Regions from separate parts of the Homo sapiens genome. Here all the other regions are linked to region 1. Evidence: promoter capture Hi-C in human tissues and cell types (Jung and others, 2019). All regions are on one chromosome and are shown on one strand. Each heading gives the region's core, a stretch centred on a gene start or on the middle of the fragment in contact. The rest is flanking DNA. Distances are from core to core; before and after follow the strand shown.

Region 1 (2,901 bases), core at 265-2,764:
ATCACCATGCAGTGATCCCATAAAAGATGTGACCAAAATACCCACTTAAAATTTGAACGTCAGTCATGTAAGAACATGTAAAAGATGAAGGGAATATTTCAAAAACGACTATCTGACGTAATATGATACTTACTATGACTCATATGGGCTTTGTTCTTCATCTCATCTTCAAATAAAAAGTTGATGATTAGAAAAAGGAGCATTAGAAGGGGGAAGTAACACTACTCGGCAATAGAGAAAAACTCCGGTCAAAGGAAGAGCATAGTTACAGAGCTCCGAATGTCAGGGAAAATCAAGCATCCGTCATTCGGAATTAGCTCTGTATCGGTCGGTTTCTTCATTACTTAATTGTACGGGGGGAAACTACTTCAAAGTAAGGGCTCTTACGAGAGGCAACTTAAGCATTTGAAAGTGCAGGTTTATTTCCTCCTAGCGAGAAGTAGGGGGTCACTAGTGAGAAACCTATTTCAATCTGTGAGACGCCCCCTTCTACTCAGCCCACGTGGCTAAAGTAAACAGAAGGTGGGCCGGGGCGGGGAGAAACAGAACTCGGTCAATTTCCCAGTTTGTCGGGTCTTTAAAAATACAGGCCCCTAAAGCACTAAGGGCATGCCCTCGGTGAAACAGGGGAGCGCTTCTGCTGAATGAGATTAAAGCGACAGAAAAGGGAAAGGAGAGCGCGGGCAACGGGATCTAAAGGGAGATAGAGACGCGGGCCTCTGAGGGTAAGGTGGGCGCAAGCGGAGGTGTGGTGCGGGGAGAGGTGCCAGTGGGTGGAGGCGGGGGCCAGAGCGAGGGCACGTGCGGGTACACTCCGGAGGAGGTGGGTGCGCGCGGGGGCGTGTGCGCGGGACCTCGAAGTGGTGGTGGAGTGCAGACCAGCAAAAAGTTTCAAAGGGAAATCTTAGATGTCACGTCTTTGTCCAGGCACCCGTGCCATCCCAACCTCCCACCTCGCCCCCAACCTTCGCGCTTGCTCTGCTTCTTCTCCCAGGGGTGGAGACCCGCCGAGGTCCCCGGGGTTCCCGAGGGCTGCACCCTTCCCCGCGCTCGCCAGCCCTGGCCCCTACTCCGCGCTGGTCCGGGCGCACCACTCCCCCCGCGCCACTGCACGGCGTGAGGGCAGCCCAGGTCTCCACTGCGCGCCCCGCTGTACGGCCCCAGGTGCCGCCGGCCTTTGTGCTGGACGCCCGGTGCGGGGGGCTAATTCCCTGGGAGCCGGGGCTGAGGGCCCCAGGGCGGCGGCGCAGGCCGGGGCGGAGCGGGAGGAGGCCGGGGCGGAGCAGGAGGAGGCCCGGGCGGAGGAGGAGAGCCGGCGGTAGCGGCAGTGGCAGCGGCGAGAGCTTGGGCGGCCGCCGCCGCCTCCTCGCGAGCGCCGCGCGCCCGGGTCCCGCTCGCATGCAAGTCACGTCCGCCCCCTCGGCGCGGCCGCCCCGAGACGCCGGCCCCGCTGAGTGATGAGAACAGACGTCAAACTGCCTTATGAATATTGATGCGGAGGCTAGGCTGCTTTCGTAGAGAAGCAGAAGGAAGCAAGATGGCTGCCCTTTAGGATTTGTTAGAAAGGAGACCCGACTGCAACTGCTGGATTGCTGCAAGGCTGAGGGACGAGAACGAGGTCAGAGCGCTTCTCTTATGCCGCGAAACTCTCCCTTTCTTCTCCCCTTCGCTTTTTCTCGGGCTTCCAGGGACTGGGGAGCAAACCCTGTAGTGTCACCCACAAATACCAAGAGGGAAGAGGGAAGCTTCACAAATTACTGGAGCCTCTTCAACATGGCTGACAAATATAGTTTTAATTCCCTCTACCCCTTTTAAACCTGTAGTTCTGTGTTCTCTTCTCTCCTCCTAATGCTCGTCCCCTCATCTCCCAGAAAACTTACCTTTGTGCCTCCGACGAGCCGGTTTCCCGGCCTTTTTTAATCCTCAGAAAAGTGATTTTTAAATTTGCTTTCCTTTCTAAAATAGTTCAGCTTTGGGGGCACTACTTTTCCCTTTAATCCTCTTCCCCTGTTTCTTTCGTGTAAGTGAAACGAGTCTCCCGTTTATCCTGAACAACCTCAGAGAGAACACTGATAGGGTGTTTTTCGACCCTTTTATCAGCTGTAGGGTCTGGGTCTGGGTTTGTGTCTGCCTCCTCCTACCTTCTTATCCCCCTTTAGGGGGCTGTACGAAGTGAATGTCACAGGGAGTGGAATTGGAGTACACTGAGTGGGTTTTTTTTTTCCTTAAGTCCGCGCGTTTTGTTAGCGGCGCTGAGTGAAAGAGGAAAGAATAGTTTCTCTGGTTCCCCAAACAAGACCAGAACTCACTTTTCTCAAGGTACATAAGTCAGCGCTGGGCTGAGCCTTCCAGCCTGGGGAATGTATGTAAGAGAATTTATGGACAAATCTGTGTCCCGGCTTTGTGCTTCTCCCGAATCAGCTTCGTTTGGTTCCTTGGTAAGTGACAGGCAGACACAAAGGCAGGCGCAGGCCCGGGGAGGGGGCGGGAGGGGGTGGGGAGCGCAGCGTTGGAGTTGCAAGACTGCAAGGTCAGGGGCGCCTAAAGAAATGAAACCCAATCCCAGCAAAGAAGTGAAGAGCAGATTTATAACAGTCCCATCCAAATTTCTCTTTGGCTTCTCTCTTTGGTCTTTCATCTCTCTGCCTTTCTCTCTGTGTCTCCTCTCTACTCTTTCTTCTCTCTCTCTCATACACATACACACACACACACACACACACACCTCACTCGCATCTTGCTGAATCTTTTCACTGGGACTGCTTGTCTAGTTTTATTAAGCTAATAGGGTTTGTATGGAGAGTTTTCTACCTATGACATAATGAAGTGTGGCCTGGATAGACTCCTGGAAAGGCCGAAAATGAAATATAAGTGTTATTTGCTGGTTATTCCCCTCATGATATA
Region 2 (2,901 bases), core at 174-2,673, 1.2 Mb before region 1:
TATTCCTTTTATTTTCTCCTGTGAGTTTGAAAGGGATGCTATAGCAAAGGCCCATGATTCTAACATACAAGATGACCTTGCAGTAAGTTTGAGAGAGACATTAAGATATTTGTCCTGAATTCTTATTTAAAAAATTCTTTTCTAAAAAATTCTTTTCCTTGAAATAAGCATGTAGAATTATTCAGATTGTTGTTTAAATCATATCTCTGCCCCTTACTAGTTTAAAGCTTATTGTTTAATGGTGGGGTTTGAAGAATTTCTCACTTCCCTTTCCAAGTTTAAAACCAATTGGGAGTAAATGATGTAGCTGATGTTGAAGAACATTGTTTCACAGATTGGTGATGATTTGACTCCTAATATTGCATCCTTGAAATAGGTGTATTTATCTAGTTGCTCACTATCATTGGCCTCCCATGGGATGCTGCCTTGTAAAATTTAAGGCAAGGAGAAGCAGAGGAAAAGTGTGTGCTGTCTTCAGTGAGGACCCTGGCAAGAATGGTTTATTTATCTGCCTTTATCTATCTGACAAGAAAGATTCCAATACTTTTTCAAAATTATGCCATCTTGAGAAGTTATTTTTCTCCCTTGAGAGAATTTGAAAGTGAGTGGGTAAGTCAAGAGTTTTTAAGGAAATTTCCTCCTCATGGAAAACAGAAGAGTAGGGGATAACCATCTGTCTCTAATGCTTTGGCAATATTTTGGTTCTTCAGTTTAATAACGATGTCATAAGTCATTGTTTGTGTTCTAAGTTATGTTCCATGATCTGCTCTCTGCGAACTGGAGACCCAAGAAAGATGGTGTAATTCAGTCTGATTCAGAAGACCTGAGAATAAGGGAAGCCAATGATAGAAATACCAGCGTGAGGGAAAAAAATGAGATGAGATGTCTAGGCTTAAGCGGTAAAACAGAGAAAAAAGGGGGTAAATTCCCCCTTCCTCTGCCTTTTGTTCTTTTCAGATCCTCAGCAAATTGGATGATGCCTTTCCTCATTAGAGAAGGCAATCTACTTTCTTTAGTCCACTGATTCAAATCCTAATATCATCCAGAAAAACAGTCACCAACTCTCTCAGAATTAATGTTTAATCTTGGCACCCCATGACCCATGAGATTGATCCATCAAATTCACCATCACAGTAAAAAAAAAAAACAGAGAGATAACTTCATAAGTCTTAACAGAGTCCAGCCTCAATTTTAAAATCTAAATCCAGTATCTCCTTCAGATATCATATACCATATCACATACCATATCATCAGATATGGATGAGATTCAATGTATAATTCATTCCAAGGCAAATGACTCTCCAGATATGAACCTGTTACATCAAACATATTCTATGGTTCTAAAATACAATGAAGGAACAAACATAGGATAGATATTCCTATTCCAAAAAGAAGAAATAGGAAAGAAGAAGGAAGTTAGAGATCCTGAGCAAATCCAAACCCTTAAGGTTTGAGAATAATCTGCGTGGACTTGATGCTCTGCCTTCCATGCCCACTGGGACAGAGGTCCTTCTTTCAGGACCAAGTGAGGCAATGGTCCCACCTGTGAAGTGTTGTCTGGCACCTGTCTTTGGGAAGCCCAACCCCTATGGCTTTGCTGGGTGCAGCTTATGCCACGGTTTTCATGGAGTCACATGCTGGTGGCTCTTCTGGTCTGAGTTTTCAGAGTCACCCCTGTCCCTATGGCCCTGTTGGGCATTGCTTTAGTGGAGACTTTTTGTGGTGGCCCTCCCCTTGTGGTGATTCCCAGTCTGGGCCCCACAGCTCCCCAGTGCATCCTTTGAAATGTAGTGGAGGCAACCATGTTCCCACAGTTTTGCTGAATGCGGTGCACGCCACATGAGGTCCTGCCAGAGCTGCACTTGGGGCAGCCAAGCAGAATGGTGCCAGAGTGCAGGAAATGGATCCTATAATGCAAAGCAGTTCTGGGCAGCAGTGTCTCTTTTGAAATCATTCTACCCTGTAGGCTCTAGCATTCTGGGACTCTGATAGGAGGGATAGTCCTGATGATCTCCAAAATGTTTTCAGGTCATTCTTCCATTGTCTTGGACATTAGATCCTGGTTTCTATTTAGATGCTGACAAGTCTTCCCATATCTGGATGAATAACATCTGGCTTCCATTGAGATGGTCAATCCATACGAAACTCATTATCATAATGTCACTTGGCCTCACCCCTATTGTCTCCCAAAAAGGCTTTCTTATTTTTTTCCAGTAGGTAAAGATTGAGCATTTTCTCAGTTTTTAAGTTCTGCTTCTCTTCTGATTAACAATTTCATCTTTAATTCATTTCTCTCTTCTTGCATTTTACTATAAGCAGTCAAGAGGAACAGAACTTCATTTTCAGTGAAGTAAATCTTTCATTCTGCGAAGGAACACAGAATATGATACATTGATTGTCTGGGAATCTTCTTCGTACTCCTCAGGGCTTTGAACCTTATAGGACTATAGGGCTATAGGACTCTATGGGGGTAAGAAACTTGTTCTTCTGAATGTCTGCCTACAAATTCCATTTTAAATGAAAATCTTCCATTTGTTGGGAGAACACTCAATGTAATGCACCATTCAGGTAGGAAACTTCTTCTTACTACTCAGGACTGTTTACCTTTAATGGTGTATGGGATCCTATGAAGGTAAGAAATTTCTTTTGCCAGCTTCTTCTCAATGTTTGCATAAAAACCTATTTTTTTCTGCTAAAATCTTTCATTCTGTGAGAGAACTAAGAATATGATAAACCATTCACCTAGAAAGCTTTTTCTTACTACTCAGGGCTGTTTATCTTGAATGACCAATAGGAGCATATCTATTTGCTTAGACAATTCCTCAACCATATATCCAATTTTATGACTCACAAGTTCTAGCTTCTACAAAACACTAGGACATGAATGAAATTCAGCCAAGT
Region 3 (2,901 bases), core at 221-2,720, 1.1 Mb before region 1:
ATAGTAGCAAAATTGAATCATGTTTTAAGGCTTTTATCTTGTCTTGTTTCCTCTTTCTTACAAGTATCCCCACAGAACAGAATGAAAAGAAATGTATAAATCTAGCCAACAAATACAAAAATCCTAATTTAGTAAGGATTAATAATTTTGTTAAAGTGAGAACCAGGTGATAAAATTAATTTTAAAGGCAAAAATCACAATTACATTTGCACCAATCTAATATTGCAACATAATTTAAACAGTGGAAATTCCTGCTAAACCGCTTATATCCACATCAGGCATTTGCTGTGTATATATTGTGAATAAATTAAAATAAAATTATAAGGTTAACTATATAGAGTTTAATGTTAATATATTCAAAATATATAATTCTGTAATTTATGTGTGCATACATTCCTTTTGCTAGTAGGTGTTTTAGAGAGTTCAGGCCAGATTCTTTTCACTGGGCCACTGCCCTCATCCCATAGGTACTTTGAATATGCTTCAAAGGGATTATGTCTCCAGAGAAATGCCACTGGGCTGAATATGCTTAGGAGACTACAACATCTCTCCACCCATAACAACAACGACTGACACACGTGGGGCACAGGTAGCAGAAAAGCCCAGCTCCTTTCTCTCAAAGCAGGGTATCATTGCTGAGCAAATCACAATGTGTACTTCAGGGCTCTCTCTCCCTGAAATGGATCAGGAACAAGTCTAAACTTTATGTGGGACCACATCATTGCTCAGCCCCTTCCCTTTCCCCATCCCGTGTAATTCTTCATGGGTTTTTCCTCCAGAGTCCTTCTGTAAGCTATAATGCACCTGAGTCTCTGTCTTAGGCTCTGCCTTTAAAGAACCTGTTTGAGGACTCTTTTGGATAATGTGCTACTATTATGTGCTTTTATGTTGAGAGTTTTGCTGAAAACCAAAACTTCCAAAGCCAGTGCTTCCGTCACCGTACTTTTGCAGTCCAAGTGGACTGAAAGCAGGCAAATTTCATCAGGCTTGGTATCAGGTATATACTGACTGCTGTGTAATGGTCCCATCTAAGAAAGAATGTAAGAAAAAAAAATCTAGGGTAGTTTATGAATAGTCATCAAAATCACATCTAAGTGTAAATTTTCACGCTCTCCTATACCAAGTATTTCTTTGCTAATAAAATGAAAATTTGGCCCTTCAATCTGAATGGCCATTTTTTAAAAAGAATCTATATACATTATGAGTAAATGACACATGGTTTTGCCAAACTCTTAACTAGCACTACCTATCTAAAATTGCTACATGCATACAAAATGGGCACTATTTGACTACAAATATCCTTTCAAGCAGATCTGATAAAATATTTTAACTATGGATATTTAGAAGCTTAGTCTTAGCCTAAGTAGTCATCATTTTTCCCTGATGATCCTTAGAATAAATCTATATACAAAAGTAATTTTTCAATTTCAGATTCAAATGTGCTAAATGTTATGACAAAAATTTTAATTTTTATTGTTATTCTGAGAAGTCTGTTTACTTTCACAAATTTCAGACATTCTTTGTTGCATCTCTTTCTCTCGTTGCACAACCTGGTATTTCTGTGCATAGCTCTTACTGCACTGAAAATACTTATCTGATTCTGTTTGCAGAAATAAATGGTGGCTTAGTCTTTTGTACTCCCTTATTAAGCTGTGCCCAGTATTTGCTTCTCAAAACCGTACCCTAGCAGACCACCTGACTGTGGCATCCTTGTTTCTTAATGGACTCTACCTTAGAAACACAGTTACCATATCAGTAGCTTTACTGATCCTTTCTAGTCTTGTTGACCATTTCATTTAGATTAACCGATAGCCTTGAGGCCAATGTTAACCACCCTAACCATGACAAATCATCTGTCTCACTTGTCCCTTAGGTTTAAATATTCCCTCTGTGCATAATAGGAAGCACTATTTATTCTGTTATCACAGAGTTTTGAAGGGGAGACTATGTGCTTGGCAGCCAAAAACATCTTTCCCCATAGTCTTTTTATAATCTCTGCTTTCCCACAACTGTACAAAAAGAAGAGAAAAAGTAAATTTGAGCATCATTCAAACTGATGAACTGCTAGAAAATTTAGCTTACATTTAAGTACATATTTAAAAGAAATTTTCAATTACTATAGGATCTGCTATGTGCTAGACACTAGGATAGGCACAGAAATATAAGAATATACATCACGATATTACTATCTTTAAGAGTTTAAATAGGAACATCCATATTAATAATATTTATAAAATAATGAGTCATGTTTAGTACAGGTAGGAAGAGCTATATAAAGAGGATGTCCCAATACTGACAAGGAATTTGGAGATAGCTTCACTAAGGAAGTAGTATAAATTGAGCCTTGAAAAACAAGAATTTTTTTATCAAATAGATAAAATAATGAGGATAAAATAATCAAATTAATGATTCACATGGTCAAAGGCACAGAAGAATAGTAGAACATAGCTTGGTTAAATATTAGGAGTCTGCAATGCATGGGCATATAGTAAGAAATCAGGAAGGTAATTTGGCAAGATGAAACTGGAAAGGTAGATTTATTTGTAATTATTCTTAATGAATCAATAATAGCTTTGGACTTATTTTTAGGATTTAATGTTAGGCAACTTTTGTTCAAATGGGCAAAGTCAGAAAACAGCAAAATATCTATGAGTCACATTTTTAAGATTCAAACTGAACAAAGCTTTGAGTCCTATAGGAGAGTGACTACATGTACTGTGTGTGTGTGTGTGTGTGTGTGTGTGTGTATCCTTGCAAGCTATGTTATTTATTTTACTGAATACGAGAATACCAGTAAGATAATTAGAATTCTATTTTAGTCACTAAAAGGTTAATATGTGGGAACATTTGTGACTTAGCAGTACCAAACAGCTTTCTAGTGCTTAATATTTTACCTTTGTA
Region 4 (2,901 bases), core at 252-2,751, 1.1 Mb before region 1:
ACAGAAGTTGAAGAATCTAAAAGAAATAAAAATTCTTAACTTAGCTAGAAAATAGTAGAGCAATGCCTACATATTCAGCAATCTAAATATTTTAAAATCTAGAATTTCTATACCCAAACTCTTTATCATTTGTGAGTTTGGTCAAAGAAATTAAAAAAGATATGAAGGTGTTAAAACATACTCACCTATGATACAAGAACACACTAAAACTTAGGAACCTAGGAAATAGACACCTAAGCTATGAAAGTGGTGACAAGAAATACCAGGTTGATGGCTTTGAGGCAGCAGACAATCTAGATTTAATCTAGATTGAAACAGGAATAAAAAAGGTTGCAGAAAAAGAGATGTTTAGTGGGGCAAATAAAACTGATCCATGCAAAAGAATAGTGTTCTCATTAAAAATCTGACATGTATAAGGCCATTGTTTCCGACAGACCAGATGACAAAGCCTGCAGAACTGACAAAACTGTCAAGGCATTTGAAAATATGAAGTATGTTCAACAGGTATTTGAAAAGTCTGCTGGCGTAGGAGGAAAATATCAATTGGATCATGAATGAATAAAAGGATGAAACATAAGCATTTAGTAGCTCCCTGGGAAAAAAATTTCTCAAATGAAACATAACATAAAACACTACTTGATTTAATGGTGAACAACATTTACATAGTCATAACAATATAAAATCTGGATATTGAGTTAATTAAACATTGTTCCACAACAGTATAGAAGGAAAGTGAGGGGAGGATCAATGTAAATGAACTAAATTCTTCTCTATCTTAACAGGAAGTCAACTGATATTATTATGGTAAATCAATAAATAGCAGTACAAATGTGCTGTTCTAAAAAGGGATAGACATACTAGAGTGAAAAACTAAAAGAACTGAAAGTGTTGGCCTCTGAAATGCAGAAATAGGGATAGAGATGATTGGTATTAAAATTGTCAATATCCTCTAATGTATTTAAACTACATACCATGTAATAATTGATGAGTTTGTCAAGGTATTTGTTTTTAACATAGCTTTTTTCCTAAATGCATTCAAATGCATTTTAGCAGGTGAATTTCCATAATTCTGCTATTCTGTGTAGATTATAGTCTTGGATAACAGGCAAATAGATATATAAATAATATATGAAGCCTTATTTTCTGCAAAATTTTAGTATTATATCTGCATTATTCAGTACTATATGGATATTATAATACCATTGTACTATATATGTGTGTATATGATTTATTGTATCTTTAGTTACTTATCTTCTGCATCTATAGAATGGTTGACTTCAGAATAAGTTAGAACATCCTTTTATCCTATGTAATGGGTAAGATATGGTTAAAATAATTCAAATAATGTCTTAGTCTGAATTTTGTATTATATTAATTTTAAGCTTCCTGATTAATTTTGCTATTCTATTCATATGTCAAATGAGTAGTGTTAATCATCTCTAATGATCTGTGTCTAGCCTCAACATACAATATCATATCCTGCAGTTGTAAGTCTTTGAACAATATATCCATGTAACAAACTGCCCTTGTACTCTTTAAATTTATGCAGATTAAAAAATATCAAGTAAATACAAGTAGAACATCAAAGTTGATCATTTACATTATTTACATTACATTGGACAAATCATTTACATAAAATCAAACAAATGATATTTTATTTGCAAATTTAGTTATATAAGAATGTCCTTGCTATAAGGTTTGTGTTAAGATCTTTCATATTGAATATATCCATTTAAATAGATTGTTATATTACTACTGCTCACACACACATATTATCTCTATTGACCTCAATAACATCTTTGGCATCTCTTCAATTGTCACAAAGCTTATCATGTTCACTTGCTGGCAATTTAGAGATTTCTAGCCTTTCCTTTGCATTAAATCTATAGCATTGACTTTTACTGACAAGTAAACTATATGTGACAGAATTTATTCTTTTATGTGTGCTATCTAAAATCTTATTCATACTAAACTTTATTTGCCCTTCACAAGTCATGGTTTGTGTATATATTAAAAGCCATAGTAGTGTACAAACCATCAGAATGTCCTGTGAAAATAGTTACATATATCTCTGAAATCTGTTCCTTTTACTCCATCCTACAACCACCATCCAGCCATCATCCCTCATTTGGACTACTGCAATAGTTCTATCAGCACTTAGAAACAGCTTTCACACATCCTGTTTCCTGTGGTTAGAAACTCATTTTTTGGTGTTTTAGCAATGGCAACAAAAGCCAAAATTGACAAATGGGATCTAACTAAACTAAAGAACTTCTGCACAGCAAAAGAAACTACCATCAGAGTGAACAGGCAACCTACAACATGGGAGAAAATTTTCACAACCTACTCATCTGACAAAGGGCTAATATCCAGAATCTACAATGAACTCAAACAAATTTACAAGAAAAAAACAATCAACCCCATGAAAAAGTGGGCAAAGGATATGAACAGACACTTCTCAAAAGAAGACATTTATGCAGCCAAAAGACACATGAAAAAATGCTCATCATCACTGGCCATCAGAGAAATGCAAATCAAAACCACAATGAGATACCATCTCACACCAGTTAGAATGGCGATCATTAAAAAGTCAGGAAACAACAGGTGCTGGAGAGGATGTGGAGAAATAGGAACACTTTTACACTGTTGGTGGGACTGTAAACTAGTTCAACCATTGTGGAAGTCAGTGTGGCGATTCCTCAGGGATCTAGAACTAGAAATACCATTTGACCCAGCCATCCCATTACTGGGAATATATCCAAAGGACTATAAATCATGCTGCTATAAGGACACATGCACACGTATGTTTATTGTGGCACTATTCAGGATAGCAAAGACTTGGAACCAACCCAAATGTCCAACAATGATAGACTGGATTAAGAAAATGTGGCACATATACAC
Region 5 (2,901 bases), core at 118-2,617, 1.1 Mb before region 1:
GGAATCTAAAACTATCGAAGTCAGAAACAGAAAGTAGATTTGTGGTTACCAGAGGCTAAGAGGTGGGGAAATGGCAAGATATTGGTATAAAGTTTCAGTTAGGAGGGAAAAGTTTTTTGACATCTATTCCACAGCTTGGTGATCACAGTTAATAATAATGATTGGCAAACTTCAAATGGCTAAAAGATAAATTTTTCTCACCACAAAAATAACAAGTATGTGAGGTCATATGTTAATTCACTTGATTTATTCCTTCCACACTGTATACATATATCATAACATCACCATGTACCCCAATATATATACAATTATAATTTTTCAGTTTATAATAAAAAAATGCTGAAACACTGAACAATACCAATGCTGTATAAACTACTGCAAAGCATAAAAAAAGAAGAAAAGCTCAAATAGATTCCAGGTTTGTTTTACAAAACAAGTTCCTTATACATGTCTTGTTCCTTTTGCATACTCCTATCCTTCTTGTCTTAAACACAGTTGATAGAAAAACTTCAATGATCTGAATGCCATTGATCATGTTAATTTTTTTGTTCATAATTTAAAAATTATTTTCAAAATAAAAAAGGAGAGGGATGCTATATTTTTTCTATCCAAATGTTTTTTTATTGATAAATAATAGTTATACATACTTATAGGGCATATGTAATATTTTGATATACTCATACAATGTATAATGATTAAATCAAGGAAATTCAGATATTTATCACCTGAAACATTTATCATTTATTTGTGCTAGGAACATTTCAAAGTTTCTCTTCTAATTATTTTGAAATATACAATGTATAATAATTAACAGTAGTTGCTCAACAGTGCTATCAAATGCTAGGACGTATTTCTTCTACGTAACTATACCCTCTTATTTACTGAGAAACAACCCCAACCTAGTGATTCAGAATCAAACAACTATTTACAGTCCAAAAATTACCATTTAGGTTTTATACAGTCAAAATTAATTTCCAAGGAGTTAAGATGTTTATCATTTTATCAATGACAAACATAATTAATATTAAAACAAAACACAAGAGAAAATCTATAGTAGAAGTAGACTGTTCCTACTTGCAAGATTTCTAATAAGTTTATATTCTTATACAATGTCCCATTGAAACATCTATGTTTAAACCTGGTTTCTACTCACTACTCTGCTAAGAGCCACAATGTTCAAATAGCCCTGATCTACCTTATCCTGATTAGCAGAACATTCTGTCCACTTTATCAAACACCAACTGACTAGGCCATATCTCTGAAAAAAATACTTCTTTTAGTTATTAGATTTTTTTCAGTCTACCTTCTTTGAGCTTAATTTGGGGATTAGAGTGTTCTGTCTGGTAATCATGAGAATTAATATTCTCTTATAAGTTAGAATAAATCTCCCATTTGTCTTACTTTGACTCAGGGTGTTCTTCTATCTGAAATCATGTTAGTGTTCCTCAGCTAATGTTACTTCTTTTATAGTTTATTGGAGGACTTATAATTTCTTTTTAAAGAAATAAAATGAATGAATTATTAACTCATACAAGCTTAATGCAACATTTTACAAGTAGAAAATCCATTTAAAATTAATGTATATTTATTTTATATTTCTTATAACTTCTTTTTTTATTATACTTTAAGGTCTGGGATACATGTGCTGAATGTGTAGGTTTGTTACACAGGTATACATGTGCCATGGTGGTCTGCTGCACCCATCAACTTGTCATCTACATTAGGTATTTCTCCTAATGCTATCCTTTCCCTTGACCCCCACCCCCTGACAGGCCCCAATGTGTGATATTCCCCTCCCTGTGCCTGTAGGTTCTCTTTGTTCAACTCGCACTTATGAGTGAGAACATGCAGTGTTTGGTTTTCTGTTCCTGTGTTAGTTTGCTGAGAATGATGGTTTCCAGCGTCACCTATGTCCCTGTAAAGCACATGAACTCATCCATTTTTATGGCTGCATAGTATTCCATGGTGTATATGTGCCACATATTCTTTATCCAGTGTATCATTGATGGGCATTTGGGTTGGTTCCAAGTCTTTGCTATTGTGAATAGTGCTACAATAAACATACGTGTGCATGTGTCTTTATAGTAGCATGATTTATAATCCTTTGGGTATACCAAGTAATGGGATTGCTGGGTCAAATGATATTTCTAGTTCTAGATCCTTGAGGACTTGCCACACTGTCTTCCACAATGGTTGAACTAATTTACACTCCCACCAACAGTGTAAAAGCATTACTGTTTCTCCACATCCTATCCAGCATCTGTTGTTTCCTGGCTTTTTAATGATCACCATTCTAACTGGCATGAGATGGTATCTCATTGTGGTTTTGATTTGCATTTTTCTAATGACCAGTGATGAGCTTTTTTTCATATGTTTGTGGGCCACATAAATATCTTCTTTTGAGAAGTGTCTGTTCATATCCTTTGCCCACTTTTTGATGGGGCTGTTTGTTTTCTTGTAAATTTGTTTAAGTTCCTTGTAGATTCTGCATATTAGCCCTTTGTCAGAAACAGATTGCAAAAATTTTCTCCCATTCTGTAGGTTGCCTATTCACTCTGGTGCTAGTTTCTTTTGCTGTGCAGAAGCTCTTTAGTTTAATTAGATCCCATTTGTCTATTTTGGCTTTTGTTGCCATCACTTTTGGTGTTTTAGTCATGAAGTCTTTGCCCATGCCTATGTCCTGAATGGTATTGTCCAGGGTTTCTTTCAGGGTTTTTATGGTTTCAGGTCTTACATTTAAGTCTTTCATCTATCTTGAAATTTTTGTATAAGGTGTCAGGAAGGGGCCCAGTTTCAGTTTTCTGCATATGGCTAGCCAGTTTTCCCAAAACCATTTATTAAATAGGGAATCCTTTCCCCATTTCTTGTTTTTGTCAGGTTTATCAAAGATCAGATGATTGT

Evidence for each region. Contacts are between HindIII fragments. The study calls those that stand out against the background at their distance.
Region 2: a contact is called between a fragment that was not itself captured here and the fragment with the promoter of TET2 in region 1, in 1 of the 25 tissues and cell types used here (mesendoderm cells).
Region 3: a contact is called between a fragment that was not itself captured here and the fragment with the promoter of TET2 in region 1, in 1 of the 25 tissues and cell types used here (mesenchymal stem cells).
Region 4: a fragment that was not itself captured here is called in contact with the fragment with the promoter of TET2 in region 1 in 1 of the 25 tissues and cell types used here (dorsolateral prefrontal cortex).
Region 5: a contact is called between a fragment that was not itself captured here and the fragment with the promoter of TET2 in region 1, in 1 of the 25 tissues and cell types used here (lymphoblastoid cells).

The regions. Positions count from the first base shown.
Region 1 is chr4:105,145,362-105,148,262 of GRCh38, forward strand. TET2 (tet methylcytosine dioxygenase 2) reads left to right here and starts at 1,515. Exons shown (of 11, transcript NM_001127208.3): 1 at 1,515-1,618. LOC124900868 reads right to left here. Exons shown (of 3, transcript XM_047416559.1): 2 at 134-1,600. The coding sequence ends at 912. RefSeq lists silencers at 777-1,456, 2,420-2,489 and enhancers at 1,527-1,696, 2,040-2,089. The HindIII fragment of the contact is 6,833 bases long and covers 1-2,901 here.
Region 2 is chr4:103,984,597-103,987,497 of GRCh38, forward strand. All of the region lies in intron 3 of LINC02503 (long intergenic non-protein coding RNA 2503), which reads left to right. Among named protein-coding and RNA genes, the nearest start is that of LINC02503, 24 kb to the left of the region's middle. The HindIII fragment of the contact is 5,780 bases long and covers 1-2,901 here.
Region 3 is chr4:104,010,429-104,013,329 of GRCh38, forward strand. The region is part of intron 5 of LINC02503 (long intergenic non-protein coding RNA 2503); the gene reads left to right. Among named protein-coding and RNA genes, the nearest start is that of LINC02503, 50 kb to the left of the region's middle. The HindIII fragment of the contact is 4,054 bases long and covers 1-2,901 here.
Region 4 is chr4:104,028,446-104,031,346 of GRCh38, forward strand. All of the region lies in intron 5 of LINC02503 (long intergenic non-protein coding RNA 2503), which reads left to right. Among named protein-coding and RNA genes, the nearest start is that of LINC02503, 68 kb to the left of the region's middle. The HindIII fragment of the contact is 3,482 bases long and covers 1-2,901 here.
Region 5 is chr4:104,067,236-104,070,136 of GRCh38, forward strand. No RefSeq gene overlaps it. Among named protein-coding and RNA genes, the nearest start is that of LINC02503, 110 kb to the left of the region's middle. The HindIII fragment of the contact is 8,203 bases long and covers 1-2,901 here.